5 separate regions of the Homo sapiens genome follow, and regions 1, 2, 4 and 5 are each linked to region 3. The links are contacts of gene promoters, found by promoter capture Hi-C in blood cells and fetal thymus (Javierre and others, 2016). All regions are on one chromosome and are shown on one strand. The core of a region is centred on a gene start or on the middle of the fragment in contact, and the rest is flanking DNA. Distances in the headings are between cores, read along the strand shown.

What was found. The method cuts DNA at HindIII sites, captures the fragments that hold promoters and counts their contacts. A CHiCAGO score of 5 or more calls a contact.
Region 1: a fragment that was not itself captured here is called in contact with the fragment with the promoter of MAP9 in region 3 in 1 of 17 cell types (total B cells); the score reaches 6.5 in total B cells.
Region 2: a contact is called between a fragment that was not itself captured here and the fragment with the promoter of MAP9 in region 3, in 1 of 17 cell types (endothelial precursors). The highest score is 7.8, in endothelial precursors.
Region 4: a fragment that was not itself captured here is called in contact with the fragment with the promoter of MAP9 in region 3 in 1 of 17 cell types (endothelial precursors); the score reaches 8.5 in endothelial precursors.
Region 5: a fragment that was not itself captured here is called in contact with the fragment with the promoter of MAP9 in region 3 in 1 of 17 cell types (endothelial precursors); the score reaches 5.0 in endothelial precursors.

Annotation. Positions count from the first base shown.
Region 1 is chr4:154,413,954-154,416,653 of GRCh38, reverse strand. The region is part of intron 1 of DCHS2 (dachsous cadherin-related 2); the gene reads left to right. Among named protein-coding and RNA genes, the nearest start is that of DCHS2, 76 kb to the left of the region's middle. RefSeq lists an enhancer at 241-460. The HindIII fragment of the contact is 5,217 bases long and covers 1-2,700 here.
Region 2 is chr4:154,817,734-154,820,433 of GRCh38, reverse strand. The region is part of intron 4 of RBM46 (RNA binding motif protein 46); the gene reads right to left. Among named protein-coding and RNA genes, the nearest start is that of RBM46, 38 kb to the right of the region's middle. The HindIII fragment of the contact is 1,565 bases long and covers 663-2,227 here.
Region 3 is chr4:155,375,625-155,378,324 of GRCh38, reverse strand. MAP9 (microtubule associated protein 9) reads left to right here and starts at 1,360. Exons shown (of 14, transcript NM_001039580.2): 1 at 1,360-1,554; 2 at 2,411-2,549. The coding sequence starts at 2,475. RefSeq lists an enhancer at 1,478-1,907. The HindIII fragment of the contact is 1,286 bases long and covers 584-1,869 here.
Region 4 is chr4:154,798,625-154,801,324 of GRCh38, reverse strand. It overlaps RBM46 (RNA binding motif protein 46), which reads right to left. Exons shown (of 5, transcript NM_144979.5): 4 at 1,761-2,543. Among named protein-coding and RNA genes, the nearest start is that of RBM46, 19 kb to the right of the region's middle. The HindIII fragment of the contact is 1,539 bases long and covers 495-2,033 here.
Region 5 is chr4:154,849,012-154,851,711 of GRCh38, reverse strand. No RefSeq gene overlaps it. Among named protein-coding and RNA genes, the nearest start is that of RBM46, 69 kb to the right of the region's middle. The HindIII fragment of the contact is 766 bases long and covers 934-1,699 here.

The sequences.
Region 1 (2,700 bases), core at 108-2,607, 960 kb after region 3:
GCTTAGGAAAGTGGGTGGAGTTACCGTGTGATCTGAGGGGCTCAGAAATCAAAGTCTCAAGTCTTGAGATGTCAGAAATGTCCGGCTAGAGCCTAGGACAAGGTGTTTGGAGGATCAGATGGCACAAAAGAGGAAACAATAGGAGCAGGACTCAGGGAGCCTGAAGATTTAATAACAGAAGGAAGACGTATTCCTCGTCGGGTGGGGAATAACACCAGAGGCCTGAAGGAAAAGAAAAAGAAAAGATGTTGGATAAACACAGCCTCCCTGCGCTGTCAGCTGCTAATGATCCTGGGATGCGAGGTGGGGGCGCTGTGAGGTCAACTGCGTCCCTCTGGCAGGAAATAGAAGACGGGGCTGATGCAGCTGTGCTCCTCTGTTTCTGGTGTGGACCCTCCTTCCAGGCTGTCCTCGGGGCCTATCCTGTCCCCCGTCTCTGGGCTCTCTTCCTGTGGGATCTCCCCAACTTTCAGACAGCTGATCATGACCATTTGACTTAGCGCCCTCTTCCTACCCCTTCTCTTGTGCTCATCTCAGTTCTACTGCATCAGCCTTCAAACTTTTTGGACTGAATGTACCTATTAATAAAAGTTTTGAGTACTCATCTCCAGTATATGTTTATTTCCTTATAAACCACGTGCAAGAATTTTGTATACAGGTGTATAAATGTGAATGTATACATGAAATAAAAATGAATATAGAAGATAAAATATGAATTTAAAATATATAAGATAAAAATATTTAAAAAATAATAAAATGGAAGAGGTAAAAAACTTATTTAAGTGAATTTATGTTTTCTTCCTACAAGTCTGTCCATCAATTCCCTTGGAGAAAACTCAGAGTGTTCTGCCACTTTTTGGAGACCTCTGGGTGGAGCTGATTCCTGGCCACGCTTTGGGCTGAATCTGATCTCATAGTCATTTTCCTCACCGACCTCGGTTTCCTCCTAATTAGCTCCATCTTACTGACGCTCGGGACCTGGAGATACCGTAGCTTTAGGTCTCCAGTACCCAAGGTCAGGCTTACTTGAGATTCTTTAGCTAAGTCTTTCTGTCTTTCCCCCAGTACCGGAAGTCAAAGATAAATATCTGAATAATCTCAGACTGCCTCTGGTTGCTTCTCCAAAAAGGAGGAATTCTGTCAAATGCCAGCTCATTCAAGAGCAGATTTAGGAGTAGGAATGCCTCTAAGTAATAATGTGGTGGCACCCCCAGAGGCAGGAAATCCATGGCAACTGAGAAAGGCTGGGTCTCTGGGAAACCTGAGGCTACTGAAAATTTGGAGCAAGTTAGGAAATTCTATTGCTAATGAGTCATGGGCTCCAATTAAATGTATATGCAATTAAATCTATGTATAAGTCAAAACAAATTATGAAATGTTTCATCAATATTTGAGAGAAGATTAGAAATGAATCCTTGTAATTGATTGAAAATACTGTTCAAATTAGTATCAGATTTCTGAAAAAATTTTTATGGTTAGTTCCCTCATCTATTAATTTGCAAATAGCATCAGTTATATCAGGTCCCTCCCGGTCTTCAGTAGTATAACTAAATGATACTGATTTAGGCAGAGAAAATAGCCATGTGTTAGGCAGTTGAACAGCTGCTAAAGAGGACAGTATGTTACAGGGGTGAACCTTTTGCCATACCCACATGAGCTCATCTGGGAGCTGTAGCCGCGGCATCACCTTCTTAGCAGCTGTCAAGGAAGGCAAGTACTTCCACTGTTGAATGGCTGTGTTCCCCAATGGCATGACTGCCAACACAGGTTCAGATCATTCTAAACTCCCTTTTCTCTGTCCACTCTTGATTTTCCTTATAACCTGCAGTATCCCATTTAGGAAAGAGGTGAGCAAGGTCTCATTTTCAGTCTTTCCTTTCACTTCTCTATCACGAATACCTAAATCAACTTTTACATATTCATGTAAGAAAAGGCCTATCCCCCATCTTGGTGGGTATTAATGTTTTAGTACTTTAAAAGCATAGTTTTATGCATGAGATGGGGAAGTTGTAGTTGGATAGCAGTCCAGTGACAGTTAGTGATAAATTTGTGTTTTGAGTAGAGAAACAAGTGTACAATGATGTCAGGAATGCTTCTTGAATTACGGCCTAATTTTTGGCAGTTATCATATGTCCCTTGGCCAAAAAAAAAAAAAAAAAAAAAAAAGAAAGCTGTATGGAGATATTTTTTGTCTTCACTTTATATTATACTCTCTGGGAATTTTCTGCTTTGCTTCCTTTAATGTTAGAAACTCAACCTAGGAGGATAATTTATAGTGTTAAGCATTTTGTGTTTTGATTGGGTTTAAAGAAATGCTAGATTTAAGCTCTGAGTTAGTACTTTGTTTTAAATCTTGAAAAAGTAGATTAGTAACTGAGCTAGTGTTTTCGAATCTTCTTCTAAACATAAAGAGATATCACTCTGAATTGGAACATATATCTATATCTCTCTCTCTCTATATATATATATATATAATTGATTTATTTGATTTATTTCTTCAAGAAATATTTATTGACTGTTTGCCCTCTATCTGCCCTATTCTAGAAGCTGAGGAGATAGTGGTGAATAAGAAAAAAGGCCTGCCATATGGAATTTATTGTTATTTTTTTGTAGGGAGGAGAAGAGTCTTGATAATAAACCCCAGTAAGCAAATAAATGAATAAGATTATTTTAGATCTTAAGTACAAGAAGGAAAATAAA
Region 2 (2,700 bases), core at 196-2,695, 560 kb after region 3:
TAAACTCTTACCTGTTTATTTTCTCCAAATTCTTCTACACAGGTCCAGGCTGAAGAGATTGTGTTCCCTGTCTGTAAGCAGTGAAGACAGAAAATAATTGAGTCTTTAGATTGATGTTATCCCTATCTTGGAAGTGCATGGAATCCTTGGTAACTTTAGTTAAAAACCTTTTGATCAGTAAATAAAAAAACAAATTTAGAGAAAAAGAAGTAAGGGGCAAATAGTTATTTCTGGAGTTCTATAAAGATGAACAAAGAGAAGAGTATTTTGATATTTGAATGAAAATTATGATTAATACATTATCAGAAAAAAATTTATCTTTCTAAACAAATTATCGTTTATCTTTCTAAATATTACTACCCTGCTAAGATAAAGAAGAGACTCTAAAAACAAATGAGATCACCCAATTTCTGATAAGCAGAAAGCCAAAGAATCTAAGTAAATTTGGGAAATAGAAATGTTGTATAAGGTGTAGTTATTTTACATATGAAACACCATTTCCTTGCTGTCTTAAAAAAGATAGATGGCCAAAATAATACTAAACTTAAATCTTTCTTCCCAACAGCTAAATTTTATCTACTTGAAATCTAATTTAGTCATATATAGTACAACTGTGGGCATCCATCTATTTTAGTGGTTACCTCTTCATATGCCTTAAAGCTTTCTGTTATGGATGTATATCCAAATCTATGCTAAGAAATTGTGTATAAAAGTATAAACAAATGAAAAATTTCTGATAACCTATAGAAAACTAGATATAAAAATAACCATCTAAAGATTATAATTCAGTATAAAAATAATCACAATATCTTCTGTTTTTACATGATGAACTAGGTAACACTAATCAACCCTCTTGGTAAGAACTAGAAAATGTAAGAAATTATTAAAAACAAAAACATTTGTTTCAAATCACTGAGAACCAAGACAGTGACGAATTATGGGGCTGTGATCTCAGACAAGAAGAAAACCCAAACGTATGTGCACCTCTTTGGGAGGTGCATTTCCTCTGGAAGGCTTGGCCAATTCCCAAAAGCTCCCTCTTGGGAATTAACAGAAGGTGCCAAGAGACAAATGAAGCTAGGAAGACAAAAACTAGAACTAAAGAGCTACTAACAAGGAATGACTGGAACTGAGTAAAAATGGACCAGAAACAGACAAACTTTAACAGAGACTAAATTTAACTTCAATTCCTGCCTAGATTAAAGCAATCTGGGTTTGTCAGTCCTTTGGCCACCTTTCTGAAGCCAAAATAAATCTTCTATGAATAAATATAACATCGTGCTAGCCTTCAAATTGTCTCCACAATTTTTCATACACAGTATCTGGTATTGAATAAAAAATAACCAGTCATACAAGGAGGTAAAATTACTATCACCTAAAACCAACAGAAACAGCAGACAACAGTAACAGATCCACAGGGTATTTAGATCATTAAATTTCAGAACTGAGTATTGAAATAACAATGCCTAATACACTCAAGAAAATAAAAGACTAAAATTTTTGGAAGGAAGTAGAAATCACAAAAGAGACTCAAATTTAATTCTAGAACTGAGAAATGAATCTAAATGAATGGTTCTTAGGATAAACCTTTTAAATTTTTTACAGATAAAAAAATTACAAAACAGAAGACAGGTAAGAAAATATACAGACTGACATACAAAAGGATGGACAATACAGAAGAAATATAATCAATACACAGGTTACAGTAAAAAGGTTTAACATATGTGTAGCTGGATTACCATAAATAAGAGAGAAAATGAACAAATGCAGTATTTGAAAACACAATAACGCAGAACTTACTAATACATTAATCTAGACTTCAGAAGTGGTGAAAGTACCAAGCAAGATGAAAACTAAGAAGACTATACAAAAGTCAAATCCATAATAGTAAAACTTCTGAAAATCATAGATAAAAAGAAAATAGTAGAAGTAGCTGGGTACAGGGAATGATGGCACAATGTATGTTCAAAGGAGTAACAAGCTGATCAACAACAGATTTCCCAAGAGAAACAACAGAAGCTAAAGGACAGTGGAATCATAACTACTGCAAAGGGCTGAAGTAAAATAACTGCTGGCCTAGCAAAAATAACCTTTCAAATGGCAGGTGAACTAAGAATACATTCAGACAAATGAAAATAGAGATAATTTGTCATAAGCATATCCACACAAAAGAAAATATGAATCAGTATTCTTTAGGTAGAATAAATAAACAATTCTAGTGGAAGCTTAGAGATGGAAGAAACAGAGGGCAAAGGAAATGATAAATGTGTAAATCAATATCAATGTATATTAAGTATAAAAACGATTATAACTAGATGTTTTTATTATATTGGGCATTGTGGGGTTTTAAATGTATAAGGTTTAAATATATATATATAAGTACCAATGACACTACATAAATTGTAAAAGAAATGAAAGAAGTCAAAGTGTACTAAGTTCCTTGTATTATCTAGGATGTGATAAAATACTCATTAATATTAGACTTCAGTAAGTTAGGAATGCATGTTGGCATTTATAGAGTAAGGACTAAGAGATTAAAGACTGAATAACTAATACAGCTAAAGAAAAGAAAGTCAAAATAAACACTGTATAAAAAAAAGGCAAGAAATGAAAAAATAAAACAAGCAGAGAAAACAGAACGCAAATGGCAAAATGAGAGACTTAATCCCAAGCCTATCGGCAAGGACATTAAATGTATAT
Region 3 (2,700 bases), core at 111-2,610:
TTTGAAAAGCCCTCAGGGAGATAGTTTATTCAGAAAATAGTTTTGCTTAGCTAAGATAAGAATGCGATTATAGAGGAAAAAGTGAGAGAATGTTTTACAGTGGAAAGGAGGTTCCAGGAGCATGAGGTGAACCTGGAAGGGTTCAACAGTAGTGCCATGAGTTAATAGAAAATAGGGAGCATTTTCTATTCTGGGTATGTGTGTGTAGAGGTGGTGTACATTTTCAGCTTCATAAATGGATACAGATGAGTGGACATATATATATAATATATTATATAATATATATTATATATATAATATATTATATAATATATATAATATAATATATATATACTATTAGTTCTGTCCATCTAGAGAACCCTGATTAATACAGCATTGTATTTTACTAAATTTCTTATTTCTTGTTATGCACATTTAGTTTTTCAATACATTGATTTATTAAATTTCTATCTCAATGTGATTTGTTTATACAAAATTGAATTAGTGAAATATTAACATATTTTAGAGATGTGGAAAAAATACCAGGTATGAGTTTAATTACTAGTCAATGAATTCATTCAGATAATTCAACTAGGATTAAGCTTTTTAAAAATTAAAAATAGTAAAAATTCATATTATTTTAAAGACTTTCAATAAACGTTTTTGGTTTTTATTTGCTTTAAGAATTTCCTATGCGAATTAAATGATGTTGATTTTGTTTACTTTAGTAGCACATGCTCTTTTAGCCTAGTGGATCATTTTGTTTGGTTTGATTGGAATAAGATTACTCACTAAGTATACAAAGAGGGGGAGTTTTACATTCAAGTAAGATGTCAAATGGGCTTTCAGTTGTGTCCACAAGAGCTGAGGTCTCTCCAGGCCCTTTGCGGCTTAGTTGCATGAAGAGCATATCTAATATCGAATACAATTCCAGGCACTCTTCCAAGTGTTCCACTTGTATTATTTCATTCAATTTTACAGCAACCTTTCAGGTGTCTATTATTAGTACACTTTTGTTTTCCCCCAGAAGAAGAAACTGAGTCATAAAGACCTTAACTTGGGACAATCACGTGTGTAGGAAAGGGGTACCAGGATTCAAACCTGCAGTCGGAAACAGGGTTCTGCAAACTCACTACCGTACTATTCTGTCCCATCCACTGACACCGTACTTCGATTCAGAGAACTTCACGTCCTAACTGTGGCAAAACGACGAATGTGCTTTATTTGCAACACGTGCAGATAAGGACCCTTACTCTATTGGCAAGAGTAAGGCTATCTGGGTGGGAGTTGGGCGGGTCCTGTCTCCTAGGCAACAGCACATGCACACAAGCGACCAATAATGAGCCCCTCTCCAAAGACCCAGGAAGGTGATGTCACTTCCTTCGTCTGGGTGGTTGCCCCAGCGACACGTTGGGCCGAAGAGCGGTGTTGGGTACCCGAGAGACCCGGCGGTGGGGAAGTCACTTCCTCCCGAAGACGCTGTTTCCTAGCAACCGCCCTCCGCCTCTGTTATTAGCCCCTCCTCCTCGCTCGGTCCAGGACCGGCTCTGCGGGCGCCGCCAGGCCCAGACCAAGGTGAGCAGCTCCTACCCGATGCTTGGCTCTTGATTCTCAGGGTCGCGGAGAACTGGCCGCGGGCGTCCGGGGCCGGGAACAGAAAGCGGGACCTGGGGGCCATGGGGGATCCGGACAGAGACCGCGCTTGGACGTGCACGGGCCTGGCGTTCGCTGGTGCTCAGCATACGGCGCGGTGAGGAGCGGCGAGCACCCGGACGTCACCTGGCCTGGTAGGGAACGGAACCCGGGGCGCACAACGCTATGGGCGGCCCTGCCAGGCCTCTGCTCCGAGTACGGGAAACCGCGATTTTAATGCGGCTCATCGCGAAAGCTTCGTCGTTTTGTCTGGCTCTCTTTAACACTTTTGTGAGAGGAAAAATTGGCTTGCAATACATCTCGCTGGCTGTTTGCGGGTTAGCATTACGATCTTTTTCTTTGAATAGCGCTGTATGCAAATATATAGATACATTTTTTTTTTGGTGGTGGTGCTCATAATTTTTACGCCGACGATCCTTTTGATGGCCTTTTAAATAAGACGTGACTTATTTTGAAGGCAATGTTATACTTTAGAAGAGAGGTGAAAAATAAGGTGTTCTATTTTAATTGGCAGCATTTTGTCGTATTAACTTGTAATCATTTATTTGCAGACTTTTTAAGTAGTTGCAAAACTATTTTAGGATAACTTCCATTTGAATTTTTTTAAACAAGCTTGTTATGAGAATTTGCTATTTCTTTACAAGAACCTTTTTAAGTGAAGATGTAGCCCAATGTTCATATCAGATGCTTTTCTTTGACCTTTGTGGGGAGAGTAGAATCAAATGTAATAAAATAAATTCTGAAGCATGCGAAGTCTGATTTGTTTTGTATATTTCAGCTACTATCAGAAGTTGAATTCTAATAATTAGCTATTTTATAAAGGTAACGAGAAAAAATACACTATGTCTGATGAAGTTTTTAGCACCACTTTGGCATATACAAAGAGTCCAAAAGTTACCAAAAGAACTACTTTCCAGGTAAAGTATTTTTATTTGGAATCATTTCACAGTGTAAACACTGTATTAGATGGGTTGAAATTGGTGATTCTAGAACAGTCCTATATAAAGCAGGGGTAAATCTTATATTACTTTTGAGGTTTTGCACATGATCATGTTTGGGCTCCATCCA
Region 4 (2,700 bases), core at 15-2,514, 580 kb after region 3:
CTTCAAGCAGAACCTTACCTTTAGTCCCACAAGTTTTGCTGATATCTCCAAATCAGAATCTCTTAAAAATATTTGTAATATACTTTGGGAGGCTGAGGAGGGCGGGTCGCCTGAGGTCAGTAGTTCAAGACCAGCCTGGCCAACGTCGTGAAACCCTGTCTCTACTTAAAATACAAAAATTAGCCGGGCACGGTGGTGGGCGCCTGTAATCCCAGCTACTCAGGAGGCTGAGGCAGGAGAATTGCTTGAATCCAGGAGACAGGTTGCAGTGAGCCAAGATCATGCTACTGCACTCAAGTCTGGGTGACAAAGACAGACTCCATCTCAAAAAAAAAAAAAAAATTTCTAATACTATGGCAGTGGCTATGGTAAGCCTAAACAATATATAAAAGCAAGCCTAAACAATATATAAAAATTATTCTCCCTTTTGAGAATGTTTTTCTTGACTGTTTTCTCTTAAACTTGAGAATATGAATTTTAAATACATATAAGCTTCTGTACTATGGTTCTGCAACCATATAAAAAATAATTTTCAGTGAAGAGTTTCACAATTATAATCAAGAAACAATGATAACACTCAAAAGATCTTTCTCTTTTATTTGATTCTCAGGAAACCACTACTCTTCCAATAAATATTATTTGGGACACAAAGTAATCATCACTAAAATCTATAGCCGCATTAAAAAATAAACAGGTTTTGGGGGGTGGAGGAGGGGGGAGGCTAACCTAACAGTAAAAAACAGAAAGTAGGAAAACACCATAGTGATATTATGTCTCTTCCTTCACAACGTCAAATATTTAGTTAGCATATCTTTCTATGCTTTTGCAAAGCCTTTCATAATTATCCTTCAAACGTTTTAAAGAAAATTTACTTTTTGAAAAACATGAAATTAAAAAGAGAATGGTCACAAACATCTCTTAATGATGCTTTTTGTCTTTCATGAGTGATAATGACAAATTTCCAGATTGGTGAGCATAAAGCTGTGTCTACACACGACCCATCTGAAATCCCACTGATTTTACTAACTCCCTATCCCCTGCCCCTCAAAAAGATCATTATGTAGACTTCACCAAAGATGCAGGGACACTCTATAATAAATTGGTTTAATGAACATATCTTGTAACTTATACAAAAAATTTTTATTTCAACTGAGAATTAGTCATTAAAAAAACAATAAATTAATAAAACAGGGTTATGAACACTACAGTAAAACCAAATTTTCCCACAGGTTAATGCTTAAAAAGCTAAATGTAGGCCAGGTGCGGTGGCTCACGCCTGTAATCCCAGCACTTTGGGAGGCCGAGGCGGGCAGATCACGAGGTCAGGAGATCGAGACCATCCTAGCTAACACAGTGAAACCCTGTCTCTACTAAAAATACAAAAAATTAGCCAAAAAATTAGCCTGGCATGGTGGCACGTGCCTGTAGTCCCAGCTACGCGGGAGGCTGAGGCAGGAGAATCGCCTGAACCTAGGAGGCACAGGTTGCAATGAGCCAAGATCATGCCACTGCACATAAGCCTAGGCGACAAAGCAAGACTCCATCTCTCAAAAAAAAAAAAAAAAAAAAGAAAAGCTAAATGTAGGAAGATTTTACAGGGCACAAGTTTCAAGAAAGTTATCATGACTTTATAAAATTGAGATAAAATTTATGTTACATACTTACCACTAATGTTGAGTTCAAAATAAATGAATTTAAAAATAATCTACAGTATTTCCTAATTTCATATTATACATCATTTAAAGTATTTTTAAACTTACCCAAATGAAGTAATGTAAACTGGGCTGCCAGTTCCTTTGCATCTTCTAACGTAGTACAGAGTTTGTCTGGCATGAAGTAACTCTGGGATCCATTTGCAATAGCAGGAATAACTATCTTATACACCAAGAGTACTTTCCCATCTTGACTTGTTGTTGAATATAAATAATATTCTGGTGGTGCCCAGTTATTTTTGTTGCAGTAATAATCCAAATGCATTACTGCAGAATTAAAATGATTGGATTTTAAAGAATACATACTAATTGGAGTAAGCTTTGTTCCAGGATAAAAAGGGTAAGTGCATCTTTCAACTTCAGGCGGACTTGGGCTATGCTGACCATTGAGACGAGCAGGAAGAGTTGGCAGCTTGCCTAGAGTTTTTGGGTGGCTCTCTTCTTTGTTAGCAAACACAATCAGATTTTCAGAATTTGGACTAATCTGACCATTAAGATGCTGTCTCCAAGTGTTTTCTTTATTTACTGGTTTAGCTAGTGTTACCTCAATACTTGCTCCATCAATGCATTTTCCATTCATAACAGACATGGCAGCCACTGCATCTTCTCGGTTGAAAAAGTGAACAAAAGCATAATCTCTAAGTTTCTTTACCCGTTCAACTGCACCAGGCTTAAATTTATTGAATTCTGCTTTAATTGTTTCCTCTGTAGTTGAGATCATTAAATTTCTTACATAAAGAACTTTAACTCTCTGCATGGTTTCCTCATCCACCTCTTTCTCTGGGTCAGCCCAATCTACCTGAATGGTGTGGCCCCATAGTTGGAATGTTCCTGTAAAAAAAAAATAATAATTTGAAGAGAATTAAAATAAAGAATAAAAGGTAAAGATGTTCAGTAAAACTGTTTCCCCAGAGAAGCAGAAACTCAACTACACATCAATAAATTTGGTTAAGCATTTGTTTCCTATTCACACAAAAATTTTTACTAA
Region 5 (2,700 bases), core at 67-2,566, 530 kb after region 3:
TAGCAGCGTATAACACATTGCAAGGCAAGAATCTCATGGTATTTTCTAAATTTTTAAGCATTTTTTCTGATCTAATTGACACTTCACCTATATTGACCTACATAGGTTTCAATGTCTCAGCTTAATTCTCTGGAAAGGTGAAAATTTCAGATACTCAGTGACTGATGAACATAACCAGCAACTTAGTAGAGATGGTTTCCACATACCAAATATAGCAAGATATTGACTCCCAACCATGCCAGTCAAGCTTCAGCACAAGAAACAGAAAACATTCTAGATATTTCACACAGAAGGGGACTTAGCACAAGAAATTGGGTGCTGAAAAAATTGCTAGACAGAAACATAAGTAAGGAGCCCACCCATGGACAATTTGGATTTCAAGATCACACCCCCTTGCCCCCAGCTGCAATTTAATCAGGTAGCTGCTGGTGTTGCTGCTACCACAACTACTGCCACCACGAGTGCCTCACACCCACAAAGTTCATGACTAGACACTAGGAATTGCCATCTGCTACTGAAAACATGTATATTTAACTATTGTCACCAGCCAGCACAGCAATAGAAAGAGGGCCTCTGTCTCACCTTCAAATTCCAGGGGTCCTGTGAGTGCATCTTATTCACACTACCTGAATCAAACCCAGAACCACCACTGCAAAGGAATCTGGAAAATGTAGTTTTTAGCCTCTCTGCCCTTACAATACAGGAGGGAATAAAGAAGAGCATAAATAAAACTCATTGCCAATATAGCATACCCTGCATACCACCTAATTCTACTAGTAGGAAAACTAAAGCTTCTCCTGATTTCTTTTCTCATCCCCAATGTCTATAGCCAATCCCTTCCCAAACCTTTCAAACCCATCCTTTCCCCTCTACCTCAGTTGCTATGTCCTAGTTCAGGCTATCCATCTATCACCTGGATTACTAAAACAAGCTTCCTAACTGGAATCTCTTCCTCAAGACGTCACTCATTACTAACTTGCCTTCTGCAAGTCTTCCAGGACTTGTCTTGGCAACTAAAGTGACTTTCAGAAATTCAAATAATATTACTTCTTTTCTCTATTTAAGGCTGTTATCTGTTTCCCATGAACTACAGAACGAAGAACAAGCTCACAAATGTCCTCCTGACCTGATCTCTGCCTTCCTCTCCAGGCTTATGTTTGATTATCTCATTCTCACCTTCTTCTAATTCTGCAATTTAGGCTTCCTTCATTCCAAACTTCTTCTAATTCTCTGTAAGTGCTGTGCCATCTCACAATACCATGTTTGCATATACTATTTTTTCTAACTGAAATACCATGCCTCCTTCTCATCTTAGAAAACTACTTTTCCTACTTCACACAGCATATTATCAATAATTGTTTACTGGCACCCCAGATAGTTAATCACTTGTACTATTTCAGTGGCATGTTGAGGAATTTAAAAGGCCAGGATGTCAGTGGATGACAATTTGGTTTGCATTCCTCTCTTACGTGTTTTCTGAATATCGTTTTTAAGCATTACCTATTGTTGGAAAAGATTCTACAGAGCCCTTTTGGAACAGGTACATAGTTACATAATCAGAGCAGAGGTAATTTACCTGAACATTTGTGCTCTATAGGATTTCATGCAATCCTGATGTTCCCCTTGTTTATTGAGGACTGGATATTGATGCAGACACTTGTTCTCAGGAATATCCCTGTCACTGAGAAATACAGAAGCTTTGACTCAAGGGGACTTATATATTGATTGGTCAGTGCTGCACCCCATGAGAAGAGGGACAGTGCACTCTCATCATTGTATATCCAACACTGATTACCACTTGCAGGTAGTAGGCATAAATTAAATATCTGCTGAGTATGTGAATATAAGAGGTTTACAAATTGAACATATAAGATATTCAAGGATGAAACTTTTCAAATTAAGGGCAAGAGGTAACTTACAGCCAGCTGCTCCTATCTTTCTTGAGAATTGCTCCTATTGCTTATTTTAGAATGTTACCATCATAGTATAATAGGGGACAGTGAGGAATGTTTAAATGTGAAGGGAGGCTTAGCTTATATAAACAGTTTTTAAAATTTTTATGTTAGTCTAAAATATATTTTCACCTACACTTATGGCATACTGGGCAACAGAAGAATCATGAAATTTTCTATGATTCAGGACACAGAATAATCTTCTACAAGACCCTGGAATTCTAGTTCCAGTAATTTCTATCCAGATGCTTTTGACAATTTTCTGGCCTCACTATGTGTATTAGTCTGTTTTCACACTGTTGATAAAGACATACCCAAGACTGGGCAATTTACAAAAGAAAGAGGTTTACTGGGCTTACAGTTCCACATGGCTGGGGAGGCATCACAATCATGATAGAAGGGAAAAGGTACATCTCACATGGCAGCAGACAAGAGAAGAGTACTTGTGCAGGGAAACTCCTCTTTTTAAAACCATCACATCTCATAAGTCTCATAAGTCTTATTCACTATCATGAGAACAGCATTGCCCACACGATTCAATTACCTCCCACTGGGTCCTTCCCACAACACGTGGGAATTTGGGATGAGATTTGGGTGGGGACACAGCCAAACCATATCATTCCACCCCCAGCCCCTCTCAAATCTCATGTGCTCACATTTCAAAACCAATCATGCCTTCCCAACAGTCCCCCAAAGTCTTAACTCATTTTAGCCTTAACTCAAAAGTCCACAATCCAAAGTCTTATCT